2 separate regions of the Homo sapiens genome follow, and region 2 is linked to region 1. Evidence: promoter capture Hi-C in human tissues and cell types (Jung and others, 2019). All regions are on one chromosome and are shown on one strand. The core of a region is centred on a gene start or on the middle of the fragment in contact, and the rest is flanking DNA. Distances in the headings are between cores, read along the strand shown. Region 1 holds the start of REXO4 (REX4 homolog, 3'-5' exonuclease). Region 2 holds the start of BRD3 (bromodomain containing 3).

Region 1 (6,764 bases), core at 418-2,917:
CACCACTGGGGATCACATTTCTTTTTTAAAAAAACTACTTTTTACTTTTATTTAGAGATGGAATCTCACCATGTTGCCCAGGCTGGACTTGAACTCCTGAGCTCAAGTGATCCTCCTGCCTGGGCCTCCCAAAGTGCTGGGATTACACGTGTGGGCTACTCGGGAGGCTGAGGCAGGAGAATCACTGGAGCCCAGGCAGCAGTGAGCTATGATCCTAACAGGAGGTAGCTCCAAGGGAGCTCCAAGGGATGTGGTAAGAATGTATGAGTGACGCACGTGGAAGAGTGTCTAGGAGAGAGCAGGCAACCTCTACAGAAGTGCAGGTCACTAGGGAGACAGCAGGTACAACACAGCCTTAAAAGCATGGACTCCAGAGTCAGCCACCTGGTTCCCAGCCGCAATCTTAGATGATCTATTTAAACTTTTCCAGCCTATTTCCTCATCTGTACAATAGCGATGATGGAAGTGTCCACCTCACAGTCTTATTGTGGGGATTGCAACACGCATGGCATAGAGCACATGGCAGAGTGCACATTTTTAGGAGCTCAATTAGTATTTACTTCAAGACCGTAAGTGTCGCTAGAACCCCATCACATGTCTGCTATCTGCTTTTCACTTCTACACAGGAATCTTCTTTCTCCCTGTCTTGCTACACAGACCAGTGTGTTCTTTCGTTGTTGTTGTTTGAGATGGAGTCTCGCTCTGTCGCCCAGGCTGGAGTGCAGTGGCGCGATTTCGGCTTACTACTGCCTCTGCCTCCCGGGTTCAAGCGATTCTTCTGCCTCAGGCTCCCCGAGTAGCTGCGACTACCGGCGCGCGCCATCACGCCCGGCTAATATTTTTTGTACTTTTTTAGTAGACACGGGGTTTCACCATGTTGGCCGGGCTGGTCTTGAACTCTTGACCTCAGGGGATCTGCCCGCCTCGGCCTCCCAAAGTGCTGGGATCACAGGCGTGAGGCCCCGCGCCCGGCCTGGTTTCGGGATTTTAAGCTAAATTTCTCTTTGTAAAATCCATTCTAGTTAGTTCATTATGCAAAAGGTACAAGGGTTTATCTTTGCTTTTTTGTACTTGAAATAATTCTTTCATCAATTTCTTTCAAGCAAACAAGTTCGAGACCTCCCTCAACAGGCCACCTTTCTTGTGAAAAGCTGTTTACAAGATTTCGATTCAAATCTGCCTTTACAGGTCTTTTGGGGCTACCCAAGTCTTTCCCTCCGTCGCGTTCTGCGGGAATGAGCTGCGCAGCGCTCCGCCCGGGCCCCCTCAAGCCTCACCTCTTGCAGCGCCTTCCAGTTTTGAGAAAAGTCTTCTGGTGCCTTTGGAGGTCGCACCACAGCACCGGGGCCGCTTGCTGGCTTCTTGCTTACTTCCCGCGCCTTGCTTTTCCAAAACCTTTTTTTCTTCTTGTTTTTCTTCCGAGTGAGCGTCTTGACAGGACCCGGCTTAGCCACGGGGCTGCTCGGGGCGCGCTTGGAGGCGGGGACCTTCGCCTTCCCCATCCTGCTGCCGTCCAGCGCCTGGGCCGGCGGCCACCCGAGACCCCGGCCTCCCCGGGCCCGGCGCCCTGGCAGCACAAGCGCCTGCCCAGGCCAGGCCGAAACACACCCACCGCAGGGACCCCGTCCAGGAAAAGACTCCGGAAGAGACCCCGCACGCGTTGCGCATACCTCAGCACGCACGCTCCAGTCCCCGGAAGCGCTCGTCTCTCCACAACCGGCTGGAAACCGGATCCCTGCCTCTGGTTCCGCGCAGCCTGGGCGGTTCACCCGCACGGGACTTGGGCCGCCGCCTTAGCCAGCGGCATCCGGGGTCATCGACCTCGAGTTTGACTGGGGCAAGCCGAGGACCTCCCCAAGATCCGGGATGGGGATGAGAGATGCGAACGCCGGAAGGGAACTGGGGGGCCGCTGTGTGTGTAGCACCTGGTAGGGCAGCTGAGCTGGGGGCACTGGGCGGTGGGGCTAGTGAGAGCCGGGCTAGGTCGCTCGCCTGCGTCCTGGACTCTCGAGCCTTTCCCGCCTTGGGCTGCTCCTTGCTCAGCCTCACAGCGGCTCATCTTCCACGTACAGTGGGGAAACTGAGGCCCAGGCACCGGGAGGAGTTCCTGCCAGTTCACTCTGTAGCAGGACGAGCCGCAGACAAGAACCCCTCAGACACCGAATTGTAGAAGGAAAGGGCTTTATTTAGTGGGGAGCATCGGCAGACTCACGTCTCCAAAAACCGAGCTCTCTGAGTGAGCAATTCCTGTCCCTTTTAAGGGCTTACAACCCTAAGGGGGTCTGTGTGAGAGGGTCGTGATCGATTGAGCAAGCAGGGGGTACGTGACTGGGGGCTGCATGCACCGGTAATCAGAACGCAACAGAACAGGACAGGGATTTTCACAATGCTTTTCCATACAATGTCTGAAATCTATAGATAACATAACCGGTTAGGTCAAGGATTGATCTTTAACCAGGCCCAGGGCGCGGCGCCGGGCTGTCTGCCTGTGGATTTTATTTCTGCCTTTTAGTTTTTACTTCTTTATTTGGAAGCAGAAATTGGGCATAAGACAATATGAGGGGTGGTCTCCTCCCTTACTTCTGCCGCCTGGGTTCAAGCGATTCTCCTGCCTCAGCCTCCTGAGTAGCTGGGACTATAGGTGCACGCCACCACTCTCTGCCAATTTTTGTATTTTTAGTAGACCTGGGGTTTCGCCACGTTGGCCAGGCTGTCTTGAACTCCTGACCTCCAGTGATCCATCCGCCTCGGCCTCCCAAAGCGCTGGGATTACAGGTGTGAGCCACCGTGCCCGGCCGGGAGTGGGTAGATTTGATGTGCGTGTGTAACAGGCAGAGGTTGATGGAGTAACAGGGAAGTGAGGCTCCTAGGATTTTGGTCTGAGCAATTGGGTGTGGCCATTTATCATCTCAATAAATGTCTGCGGGGAGCAGGGTGAAGTATGGGGGTGGAGCCATGAGCTCCTTTTCACACTTGCTGAGTTTGAACGGGCCGTCAGTCACCAAGGAGAGACGTCTAATCAGCAGCAGGATATAAGATTCCTAAGCTTAGGGAAGGGTCAGTGCTGGAGATGTAATTTGGAAATCGTCAGCACATAATTAGTGTTGAAACATGAACCTGGGTTAGTTCATCCAAAGAGAGAGTACCAATATAGGGAGTGAAGGGTTAAGACCAGATAGCAGGTGCTGGGGGCTCTCCAGGGGCGAAGCAGCAGAGGAGGCTGAGGGGGAGCAGTCAGTGCAGTGGGAGGAGAAGCGGATGTGAGTGGCATCAGAGAATCCAGGGGGAGAATAAACCACATCAGATGCTGCTGAGAGGCTGAGAAGGACGAGGACAGAGAGATGGGAACCAGATATGGCACTGAGATTGTCAGCAAGTCCACCGAAAAGGGTTTTCTTTTTTTTTGTTTGTTTTGAGACGGAGTCTTGCTCTGCTGCCCAGGCTGGAGTGCAGTGGCGTGATATCGGCTCACCACAATCTCCACCTCCCGGGTTCAAGCGATTCTCCTGCCTCAGCCTCCTGGGTAGCTGGAACTACAGGTGCACGCCACCATGCCCAGCTAATTTTTTTTTTTTTTTTGAGACGAAGTTATGCTCTTGTCGCCCAGGCTGGAGTGCAATGGCGCAATCTCGGCTCACCGCAACCTCCACCTCCCGGGTTCAAGTGATTCTTCTGCCTCAGCCTCCCGAGTAGCTGGGATTACAGGCATGTGCCACCACGCCCGGCTAATTTTGTACTTTTAGTAGAGATGGGGTTTCTCCATGTTGGCCAGGCTGGTATGGATCTCCAGACATCAGGTGATCCTCTCGCCTCAGCCTCCCAAAGTGTTGGGATTACAGGCGTGAGCCACCGCACCTAGCCTAATTTTTGTATTTTTGAAAAGAGACGGGGTTTCACTATGCTGGCCAGGCTGATCTCGAACTCCTGACCTCATGATCCGCGTGCCTCGTGATCCACCTGCCTCGGCCTCCCAAAGTGCTGGGATTAAAGGCGTGAGCCACCACACCTGGCCCAGGTTTTCTTTTTAAAAAAGGAAAAAAACTTTGTTCCAGCAGTTTGTAAACCAGGGCAATGCAGCCTTCTGTACAAAGGTGCATTCCAGGGAACAAAGAGAACAAAGAAAGAGGTCGTCTTTTGTAGAGAACTTCCTGCCCAGGTTCCCACTTTGGTCCACTTATGCAAATGAGGAAGGCACACTTGCTTAGTTCTGATTGGTTAATACTTGCTGAGTTCAGATTGGTCGATGCAGGTCACAGTCGATGGGTTGATTCTGGCGGCATAAACAGGAACAGATAGCTGTGAAACCATCCCAGAGTTAAGTGAGAGTGGGGGCTTTCCAGGAACGCAGAATGTGTGTGTGACCCTAGTCAGCAAATGGCTGCTAGGTCCTACTTTGAATTTAGGCCCAGTTAGTAACTTGGGATCCATCAAGAAGGATTGGCTCTTTCAGGGTTCACAAAGTTATTGGTGACCTTTTAAAGATCAATTTCAATGGTATGTGGGAATTGAAGGCAAGGAAGTGGAGATAGCCACTGAAAATAATGTTTCTAAGTTCTTAAAGACAGCCAGAAACAGGGCTATGGCAGGAGGACAGTGTGGGTCAAGGGAAGGTTGTTGATTGTAATCAAGAGACACCAGAGTGTCTGGGCTTGGTGGCTCATGCCTGTAATCCCAGCACTTTGGGAGGCCGAGGCAGTCAGCTCACCTGAGGTCAGGAGTTTGAGACCAGCTTGGCCAACATGGCGAAACCCCACCTCTACTAAAAATACAAAAACTAGCCAGGCGTGATGGCGGGTGCCTGTAATCCCAGCCACAAGGGAGGCTGAGGCAGGAGAATCACTTGAACCTGGGTGGCGGAGGTTGCAGTGAGCCGAGATCGTGCCACTGCACTCCAGCCTGGGTGACACAGCAAGACTCTGTCTCAAAAAACAAACAAAAACCAAAAAGAGACAGGAGAGTCATTCATGCTGATGGAGTGAGCCAGGTACCAGGATCTCGATATCTAAGCATGCCCCCTTCTCCAACAGCCTCCTTACCTTCCTGCATGAAAGCACACCCTTCCCTCCAGTCCCCCATTCCTTTATTCTGCTGTATTTTTCTCCATAACACTTACCACCTTTGAACATACTACATATACAACATGTGTCTGTCTAGCAACTTTGCTGTCTGGCTCTCTTCCCTAGAATTTAAGCTGTGAGAGGCCGAGGCTGCTGTCTGCCTGGCTTGGGGCTGCTTTCCTGGTGTCTAGCACAGAGCCTGGCCTGTTTCAGGGGCTCAGTGAAACATTTGTTGGCTGAAGGAATGAATGAATGGCTCTAGCAGAGGGGCAGAAACTAACGATGCAGGAGGAGAGAGCTGGGAAGGGATCCAGAGCCAGGGCCTGGCAGGAAGTGTAGGTGTGTCCTCCCTGATCGCAGAGGAGGAGAGAGGCTGCACTTTGAGGGGTGGAAAGACAAGGTGAATCCCCCTGCTGGTCATCAGCTTGTGCGGCTCTGTGGGTGTAAAAGAGTGGTTTGGAGCATGTGAAGTGAGTCTTCCAGGAGATGAAGGGGATTGCCAGGCCGTTTGTGATGATGCTGAGATCTGGTGCCGTGCAGCCTGCTTCTGCGACTCTCCTCATCAGGCGCAGGCACAGAGTAGGTGGAGAGTTGAGCCAGAACCACGATGTCTTTGGCACAGCCTCTCATCTGTCAGATGGGAGCGGGGACCCCGGAGAGGGAGTCAGCCGAGGTCCTGGCATTCCTTGTGAACCCCCGTCTGTGGGTTTCTGGTCCAGTGTCCCTTCTCCAGATTAGATGGCTTAGGCCTCCTCTAAGGGGGTGGGCGTGCACATCCGGAGAGCTGTCTGGTGTGCAGGACTGGGCTGCAGGTTACCCTGAACTGCAACCATCTTAGAGCAAGGCCCAGCTTGCAGCAGGAGGAGCTGCAGGCCGCCCACCCTAGCCACGGCCCCTGCCCTGGCAGGAAGCTTCCAAGAGTAAACACTGCCTAATCGTCCCGCCCAGTAGTGAGCAGGCCTGTCCCATTCCATACTGACCAGATTCCCAGTCACCAAGGCCCCCTCTCACTCCGCTCCACTCCTCGGGCTGGCTCTCCTGAGGATGCACCAGCGTCACCCCCGGGCAAGATGCCCTCCCCTCTGTGTGGCCGGAATCCTTGCCTGTGGCTTTCTCCTGGGCTGCTGGGGACCCTCCCATTTCCAGCAGGTGGGCTCATTTGCAGGAGCGGGGGTATTCTGGGAGCCTCTGGGTGGGGTATTCTGAGCTACCTGGGGCGAGGGGAGTGCCAAATAGCTGACTACATCAGCTTTGGGGTTTGCGCTGGGCAGGGGAGTCTGTACTTGGGGCTTTGGGGGATGAAGTGTGCTCACTGAAGAGGGAGTTGGTGTCTCAGTACGACCTGCTCATTCGGTGAAGCTGAACAGACAGATACTAGTTTGTCCCAAACTGTGTAGGTTGCTCTTCTCTGCCTCTCCCTTCCTCTCCCTGTCTCTGATTTCCCCCTCTCCTTCTTGGTTGGCCTCACCCACCTCCTGCCTCCTGTCTCCCTCTTCATCCATCTCTTTTTGTTCTTTTTTCTTTCTCTCTCTCTCTTTTTTTTTTTTTTTTTTTTTTTAAGACATGGGGTCTTGTTATGTTGCCCCAGCTGGTCTCAAACTCCTGGACTCAAGTGATCCTCCCACCTCGGTCTCCCCAAGTGTTAGGATTACAGGCCAGAGCCACTATGCCCGGCCCCATCCATCTCTTTTTGTCTTGCAGAGTTGT
Region 2 (7,132 bases), core at 1,854-4,353, 650 kb after region 1:
AAACGCTGACCCAAATGCACCTGGCACCCCATCATGCTTTGCTACCTGTGCATCTCTTCTGCTCCAACAAGGGGGCGGAGCCACAGGGGTCGGGAAGGCCCAAGGCAGACCCGCAAGTTCCAAAACCTTTTACGGCAAGAAGCCTTGCATTCTACCATGATTCATCCAGTTACCTTCTAGCTTCAACCAGATACTGGCTTCGTGATATAAGGGACCTGCTGGCTAGGCACGGTGGCTCATGCCTGTAATCCCAGCACTTTGGGAGGCCAAGGCAGGTGGATCACGAGGTGAGGAGTTCGAGACCAGCCTGTCCAACACAGTGAAACCCTGTCTCTACTAAAAATACAAAAAATTAGCTGGGCGTGGTGGCGGACGCCTGTAATCCCAGCTACTTGGGAGGCTGAAGCAGGAGAATTGCTAGAACCCGGGAGGTAGAGGTTACAGTGGGCTGAGATCGTGCCACTGCACTCCAGCCTGGGCAACAATGCGAGACTCCATCTCAAGAGGAGAAGAGAAAAAAAAAAAAAAAGGAACCTGCCTAGGACAGGAACCCCGTCAGGTCAGTTATACTTTGATGACCGGTCAAGGAAGCAAGAGGAGGATCCTCTGACCAACTGCGTTAACTGCTTTGAAAACCAAGAGACCCGCAGCACGACTTCAGGCATGCCCCCACCTCCCAGGCAGCAACGCTGGGAAGAGTAGGCCCCGGTTCCCCATACCCCGCCCCGGTACCGTGTGTATCCACAGCAAAACATGGCTCTTCCCATCGACAACTGGGCATAGCTGTTGGTTTTGTGCCAATCACCCCACTTGGGAAACCCTGAGCCACCATGCCTCAGGGAAAGTGGTGGCACTTCCTGGTGGCACCAGGAATCGCACAAGGCCATCACTGCCGCCTGGTGCACAGGGCTCCCGCGGCTGGCATCTCCAGAGCCTGGAGGAAGAGGGTAGAGGAAGGTAGCACCGGCTGCAGCAGGCCTGGCTGCTTCGCTCTGCACACCCCCACTTTCACTTTCTGGGTATGACTACTTCGGAGTGTAGGGCAGGCACTGTTTGCAAGTCCCGTCCTTCATTCAAAGCTCACTCACTTCCGAAGCAGGCGCGAGCTGTTGTCAAAGGAAAGTAATTACTCTACTTTCTAAAAACAAAACAAAAATAAAAATGGAGTGACTGCCCACTCGGAGAAAGCTTTTGAAATCCCTCCTCCCCGGATGTCCCAACGGCAGGGCTCAGGCTGGAGCTGCTCCCACAGTCTTTCCAGGCACCCGGTGCCCTGCTGAGGCACCGGGCCTCTGAGGCTACCCGGAAGGTCAGAAAGAAATGCCCCTCGCTCGCCTGCAGCCCGTCCTGTTACAGCGTGTGCCTTATCTTTCATGATCAGTAACCACCAGCACCCATCAAGGCCTCAACAGAGAAAACGGCAAACACAGACCTTTATTTGCAAATGAGAGGCTGCATCAGGGCTGCCAGGGAAGAACCCGGAGGGAGGGCTCCCTAACCCCCGAGGCCAGCCCCTTGCAGGGGTTCAGACCTTCCTTAGACCCCGTTGGAAGCCAGTAACAAACTACTTTCCCCAGAAAAATGCCATACAACTTTGCATAGATTCCAGGATCTCCCCAGGCATACTACATGGACCCAGGAAAAAAAAAAAACCCTCCATTTTAAAGAAAAGAGTAAGGGGAAAAGCCTACAAAAGAGCAGGGTAAAAAGAAAACTCTTTTCCTCTTCTGTTCCTTCTCACAGGGTAGGGCGGGGGAGGACGGGACACACGAAGCTGCCTCTTGCAGTTCCAGCCCAATTACTCTGCCCACCAATGCACTACAGTCTCCCCTCCTGGTTAACTTTTGCAGACAATGACCAAGTTTAATGTAAGGGGGAGAAATCCCAGTATCTATTTCTGAGCAGAAAGCTTTCAACCAAAATTAAAGATCGCAACCACTCAAGGATTGGGTCGAACGGAGGAACCCACACGATGGACGCCGGGTCCCTGCCCCCGGTGGGTCTCGGCGGGCCGAGTTCTCGCCCTCCAGGGAAAGGAGGCCGCGCGAAGCCCCCATCCCGGCCCTGCCCCCGAACGAGCAACCGGTGGAATAAGACTTCCCGCACGCCCCAGCTTTATTCACAGAGAGCCCACCAGGGCCATGTGGGTGTACACGGTTCGGGGTGCGCATTTCTCCCCGGATGGGCTTGTATCACGTTGTCACTCCGGCGCCCCCCAAAAGTGGGAAGGAGGGGAAGCACCCCCGTCCCTCCCGCTCCAACTCGCCCTCGCCCGGATTAAGCGATTTTCAGGCTGATTTCAAAACGGGAACTGGGTCTCCCCCTGGTTTGGGTGCAATAATCCGGCAACTCAGGGGGGCTCAAAGTCAGCTCTGGGCCCGTAACTCTGGGAGGAGGCCGCGCAGAGCCCAGGGCCGAGCCCGGCCTTGCCCCCCGCCCCGGCCGCGGCGCGCGGCGACGGTCCCCAGGCGCGGGCCCCAGCAACGGCTCGGGAGCGAGGCCGGCGGAACAGGCGCGGGGAAAGTGGCCCCGCGGAGCGCACGGCCGCAGGCCGGGGCCGCCGCGCGCACCTTCCCCCTCCGCGTCCTCCCTGGGTTCCCCCTTCGAAAGATGGCGGGCGGAGGAAAGGGGGAAAAAAATCCCTTCCGTGAGGGAGGGCGCGCGGAGGCCGGGCTGGCGCGGGGCGCGCGGGCCGCGCCAACTCCGGGCTGCGCGCCCCGGCCGCAGCGACGCCCCGAGTCCGGGACGGAGGCGGCCAAGCGGGAGCGGGAGGAGGGGAGCGGAGCCCGCGCCACCGCCGCCGCCACCGCCGCCGCGACCCCGGGCGGCCGCCGCGCTTTGTTGCATCGTGGCCGCGCACAAAGGCGGCGGCGGCGGCGGCGGCCCCGGGCGCCCGGTTCACCCGGACGCGCCGGCGGACTGCGCGGGGCGCTCGGGGCCGCGCTCCCCGGCCCAGCCCGGCCCGCCGCCGCCCGCGCCGCCCGCCGCCCCGCGCGCGCAAGGAAGCAAGAGAAAGGCGTACTTGGCCTCGCGGCTCCGGCGGCCGTCCCCTCCCGGCCCGCGCGGCCGGCTCCTCTTTGGCTCGCCGGCCCCGGCAGCATAATAGACGCGCCGGAGCCGAGCAGGGCTCATGCGCTGCGCCGCGGCGCCTGGCGGGAGTCGTAGTCCGCGGCCGGGCCCGCGCCGGGGCCGCCCAGGGGAGGCCGCGGGCGCGCGGACTACATGTCCCGGCCCCGCCGGCGCCGCGCCCCGCCCCGGGGGCCCCCGCCCGCCCCGCCGACCCGGCCGAGAGCGGGCCTGGCCCGGGGGGCGCGCGGGGGCGGGGCTCGGCGCCCGCCCGGCAGGGCAACAACGCTGGGACCCCGTGGGCCGTTCCCCGCCCGGGCCCGCACGGCTCTCCTCACCCCGTGTCGGGGACAGCGCCTGGCGGCGGATTTTCCGGTGCCCCAGGACGGCATGGAAGAAGCGGGCACGCAGCCAGCACCGCAGCCCCCGTCCGGGCACCCCGAGGCCCGCGGGAGCCACCCTCGAACCCCGGCCGCGCACGGGCGGGGCGGCGCGCACCTGCCGGGAGCCCGTGTTTGTAAACAAACCGCGCGCCTAATTAGCCTGGCGGGAGCGCGCGCGCGGGGCGGGGGGCGGGGCGTCGGTGCGCGCGGGCAGGTCGGCCCCGCCCGGGGAGGAGCCGCGCTCTGCCGCGCCCTCCGTGTCACCATCTCCCCCACCCGACTTGCTGGGGCGCGGGCGCCCAAGTTCGCTGTTGCTGGAGAGGGCGCCAAGTCCCCAGAGCTGGCGAAGAGTTAGGGGTGCTCCCAGCTCTGCCTGGGGACCTTCTCGCCCCAAGCCCCGGTTTCCCCATCTGCCCAGTGAGGGGCGGGAACTAGATACCAGGTTCCCAGCCTGAGATTCCGGGAGAGGGCCACCCCTGGCCCTTTTTCTGTATCTTGAAAGGTTCAGCCCGTGGACACGTTTTGCATCTTGTTTTGGGTGATGACGACTCGGGTTTACACATAAATCAAGTTGTGGGGGGGGGGGTTTTGTTGTTTTTTTGGTTTTTGTTTTTTTTTTTTTTTTTTGAGACGTTAGTTTCGCTCTTGTCACCCAGGCTGGAGTGCTGTAGTGTAGTGAGTGGCTCGATCTCGGCTCACTGCAACGTCCGCCTCCCGGGTTCAAGCCATTCTCCTGGCTCAGCCTCCCGAGTAGCTGAGATTACAGGCACCCGCCACCACGCCCGGCTAATTTTTGTATTTTTTAGTAGAGATGGGGTTTCACCGTGTTGACTGGGCTGTTCTCAAACTCCTGACGTGAGATGATCCGCCCACCGCGGACTCCCAAAGTGCTGGGATTACAAGCGTGAGCCAACGCACCCGGCCACATAAATCAATTTTAATCCAGCTGTAACTTAAGGTGGTTACACGTTGTGTACATTAGACCCCAATAAAAACGTCAAAAACAAAACGAGGTTCCTTGGTGCCTGCTGAACCTGCCAACTGCAAGGTCGAGTTTCCTTGTGTGGGCTGCACCCACCCCAAGCCCCTGGGGTCCCCAGGTGTGTTCCAAGTTGAGCAGCAGCTCCACTGCCTGAAATGCACACATCTATGCAATATTCACAAAGTGAGTGCCAGCACAGAGACAATTCATCCCCATGCTCACCCAGAAGGCAGGTGTTCTGTTCCAGGCTGACAGGTAAGGAAACAGGCTCAGTGAGGCAAAGGGTCCTGCCCAAGGTCACAGAGCCAATTTGCAGGACGGCTGAGACCCAAAGCCCCGGGGTCTTAGGAAGAGTTTGCAGGGGAAGCCAACACCTTTCCCAATCCTGTCCCTCTGTTTCTGCTGGGAGCCCAGGACCTTCTCACACTCCAGGGCAAGGCTCTAGGACGAGGTTCCAGCCTTGCCTTTCTAGTTGGCAAAATGGACAAAGTGCAGTCCTCAGGCGCAGGAAGGTCGGGGAGGGGGAATATGAGAGGTGAGGATCTGCAGGCAGTTCCCTTAGAACTACCATCCTGGTTGTGTCCCCAAACCCCCGGTGCAGTTCCTCAACCTACAGGCTTCTGTGTTAGCCACCTTGGAGGCTGCAACCCATTCCTGCTGTCTGCATCTCATCTCCTTGGGTATCTTGAGCACTCTGACCACCAGGATGGCCACCTCACCACTTACACAGACCCCACTGCACTCCTCCCAAGGCTAGAACAAAAAGCCTTTCCGCCTGGTCTTGACCTCAAGGAACCCAGGTACATGCACACAGCAGGCTGCCCTGACCAGCCAGCGTGTCTGAGGCTGCTGACCAAATGCCCCCAACCCTTATGGGCCTCCCACTGCCCTAAGGTGACCCCCAGGAGTATGGCAGGAACCCAGGCGCTCCCTGGGCACTGGCTCTGATGGAAGCACCAAGGTCCCCTTCTTTCCCTTCCCGCTGCTCACCCACACATGAGTGGCCCGGATGGCTCCATGGAGCCAACTTTCCCGAGGCTGGAGAAGTCTCTAGGAAGCAGAATCTGTAAGGGAACAGGACAGAAACTCTCATTTGAGCATCTCAGCCCCTGTGCTACTATCTCTGAAGACTAGTTTAGGGGCCACAGTGGCAAACAGCTGAAAGCCAGCAGGGCTGCCATTGAGAAGGGATTTGGGGTGGCTCTGCAGTCCCCTCCAGCCCCTAGCAGCCCATCATCCTCTCCCTTCCTGCTCAGGCTCTTGGAATTTTAACCTCTGGTACTGCTGAATTTCCCAAGTGAAGCCACTTAATCTCCCCGACCCAGGTTTCCTCCCCTGTCACAGGAGGATAAAAATAGAACCTGATCCCGCAGCTCTGGTAAGGGAGGGGGGCATGTGCAAAGGTTGGGGCTGTGATCAGGAGCAGGCTGCTGCCTTTGCCTCCTTGGCCATCACTCACCTCTCTACCTTCACGTTTTACTTCCTGAGCCTCCTTGTGGGCTGTCTCACGGCTCCATGAGAGCAGAGCACTTTGTCCATGAGGTATCCCTAAACATCCTTCAACAGTATCTGGCACCTAGTGGGTGCTCAATACATAGTTGTTGAATGAATAAATGTTCTCTTCTGCACCTCTGTCCTGCCCTCCAGCCTCCATCTGCAAACCTCAGTGTAGCCCAAGCTCTACCAGTGAAGCAGCCACCTGCTCACATCTAAAGGAGGACCCAGAGCCAGGCTCCAGCCAGTACAGGAGCCAGGGCCTCAGCTGCCTCCTCCTCCTTCACCCACAATGCCCCTTAAGGCAGCAGTCCCCAGCCTTTTTGGCAACAGGGACCAGTTTCATGGAAGACAATTTTTCCACGGATGAGTGGGGGCAGATAATGGTTTTGGCATGAAACTGTTCCGCCTCAGATCATCAGGCATTAGATTCTCATAAGGAGCTCACAACCTAGATCCCTCACGTGCGCAGTTCAGAGTACGGTTTGCGCTCCTGTGAGAATCTGATGCAGCTGCTGATCTGACAGGAGCCGGAGCGCAGGCGGGAATGCTGGCTCACAAGTACTCACCTCCTGCTGTGTGGCCCCGTTCCTAACAGGCCACGGACCAGTAACAGTCCAAGGCCCAGGGGTTGGGAATCCTGCCTTAAGGCGCAGAGCAGTTACATCATGGCACTGAAGTTTATACATCAGTTTCTTGAAAGTTTCATTATCATGTGTCTTTCCCCAGGACTGACCAGCTCTCAGCACAACTTTTTAAGAAAATGAATTTCTGTCTCCACCAAGCAGAGGCTGGGCTACAGAGAACTCTGGAGGGTGGAGGAGCAGAGGTTTTTAATTATACAATAATTTAGTGCCTACTATGTGCCAGGCCCTGTGTCAAGAGCCTTATGTACACCATTTTACTGAATCCTGGAACAGTTCTATGACGTAGGGATGATTATGTCTACTTTACAGGTGAAAATGGAGGCAAAGTTAGGTTAAATTACTAGCCTGAGCCATGAACCCAAATGTGGGTTCATATTTCATTTACAAAATATATTCCAGAAGACTGCACCTTGGTAGGGGAAGGTGAGGCATTTAACTTGAGGAAGCAAATGCCCAGATCTAAGTTCATTAAACTTCTCTTAGAAAAGGGTGGGAGGCCGGGCACCGTGGTCCATACCTGTAATCCCAGCACTTTGGGAGGCCAAGGTGGGCGGATCACC

Evidence for each region. The method cuts DNA at HindIII sites, captures the fragments that hold promoters and counts their contacts. A contact is called where the count stands out against the background at its distance.
Region 2: the fragment with the promoter of BRD3 here is called in contact with the fragment with the promoter of REXO4 in region 1 in 1 of the 25 tissues and cell types used here (IMR-90 fibroblasts).

Annotation. Positions count from the first base shown.
Region 1 is chr9:133,416,343-133,423,106 of GRCh38, forward strand. It overlaps REXO4 (REX4 homolog, 3'-5' exonuclease), which reads right to left and starts at 1,668. Exons shown (of 8, transcript NM_020385.4): 1 at 1,278-1,668. The coding sequence starts at 1,502. It overlaps ADAMTS13 (ADAM metallopeptidase with thrombospondin type 1 motif 13), which reads left to right and starts at 6,025. Exons shown (of 29, transcript NM_139027.6): 1 at 6,025-6,206; 2 at 6,759-6,764. The coding sequence starts at 6,102. RefSeq lists a silencer at 1,413-1,652 and enhancers at 1,763-1,982, 5,180-5,319, 5,550-5,599, 5,720-5,779. The HindIII fragment of the contact is 5,032 bases long and covers 1-4,507 here.
Region 2 is chr9:134,064,923-134,072,054 of GRCh38, forward strand. BRD3 (bromodomain containing 3) reads right to left here and starts at 3,104. Exons shown (of 12, transcript NM_007371.4): 1 at 3,023-3,104. RefSeq lists silencers at 2,550-2,799, 2,980-3,709. The HindIII fragment of the contact is 16,877 bases long and covers 1,549-7,132 here.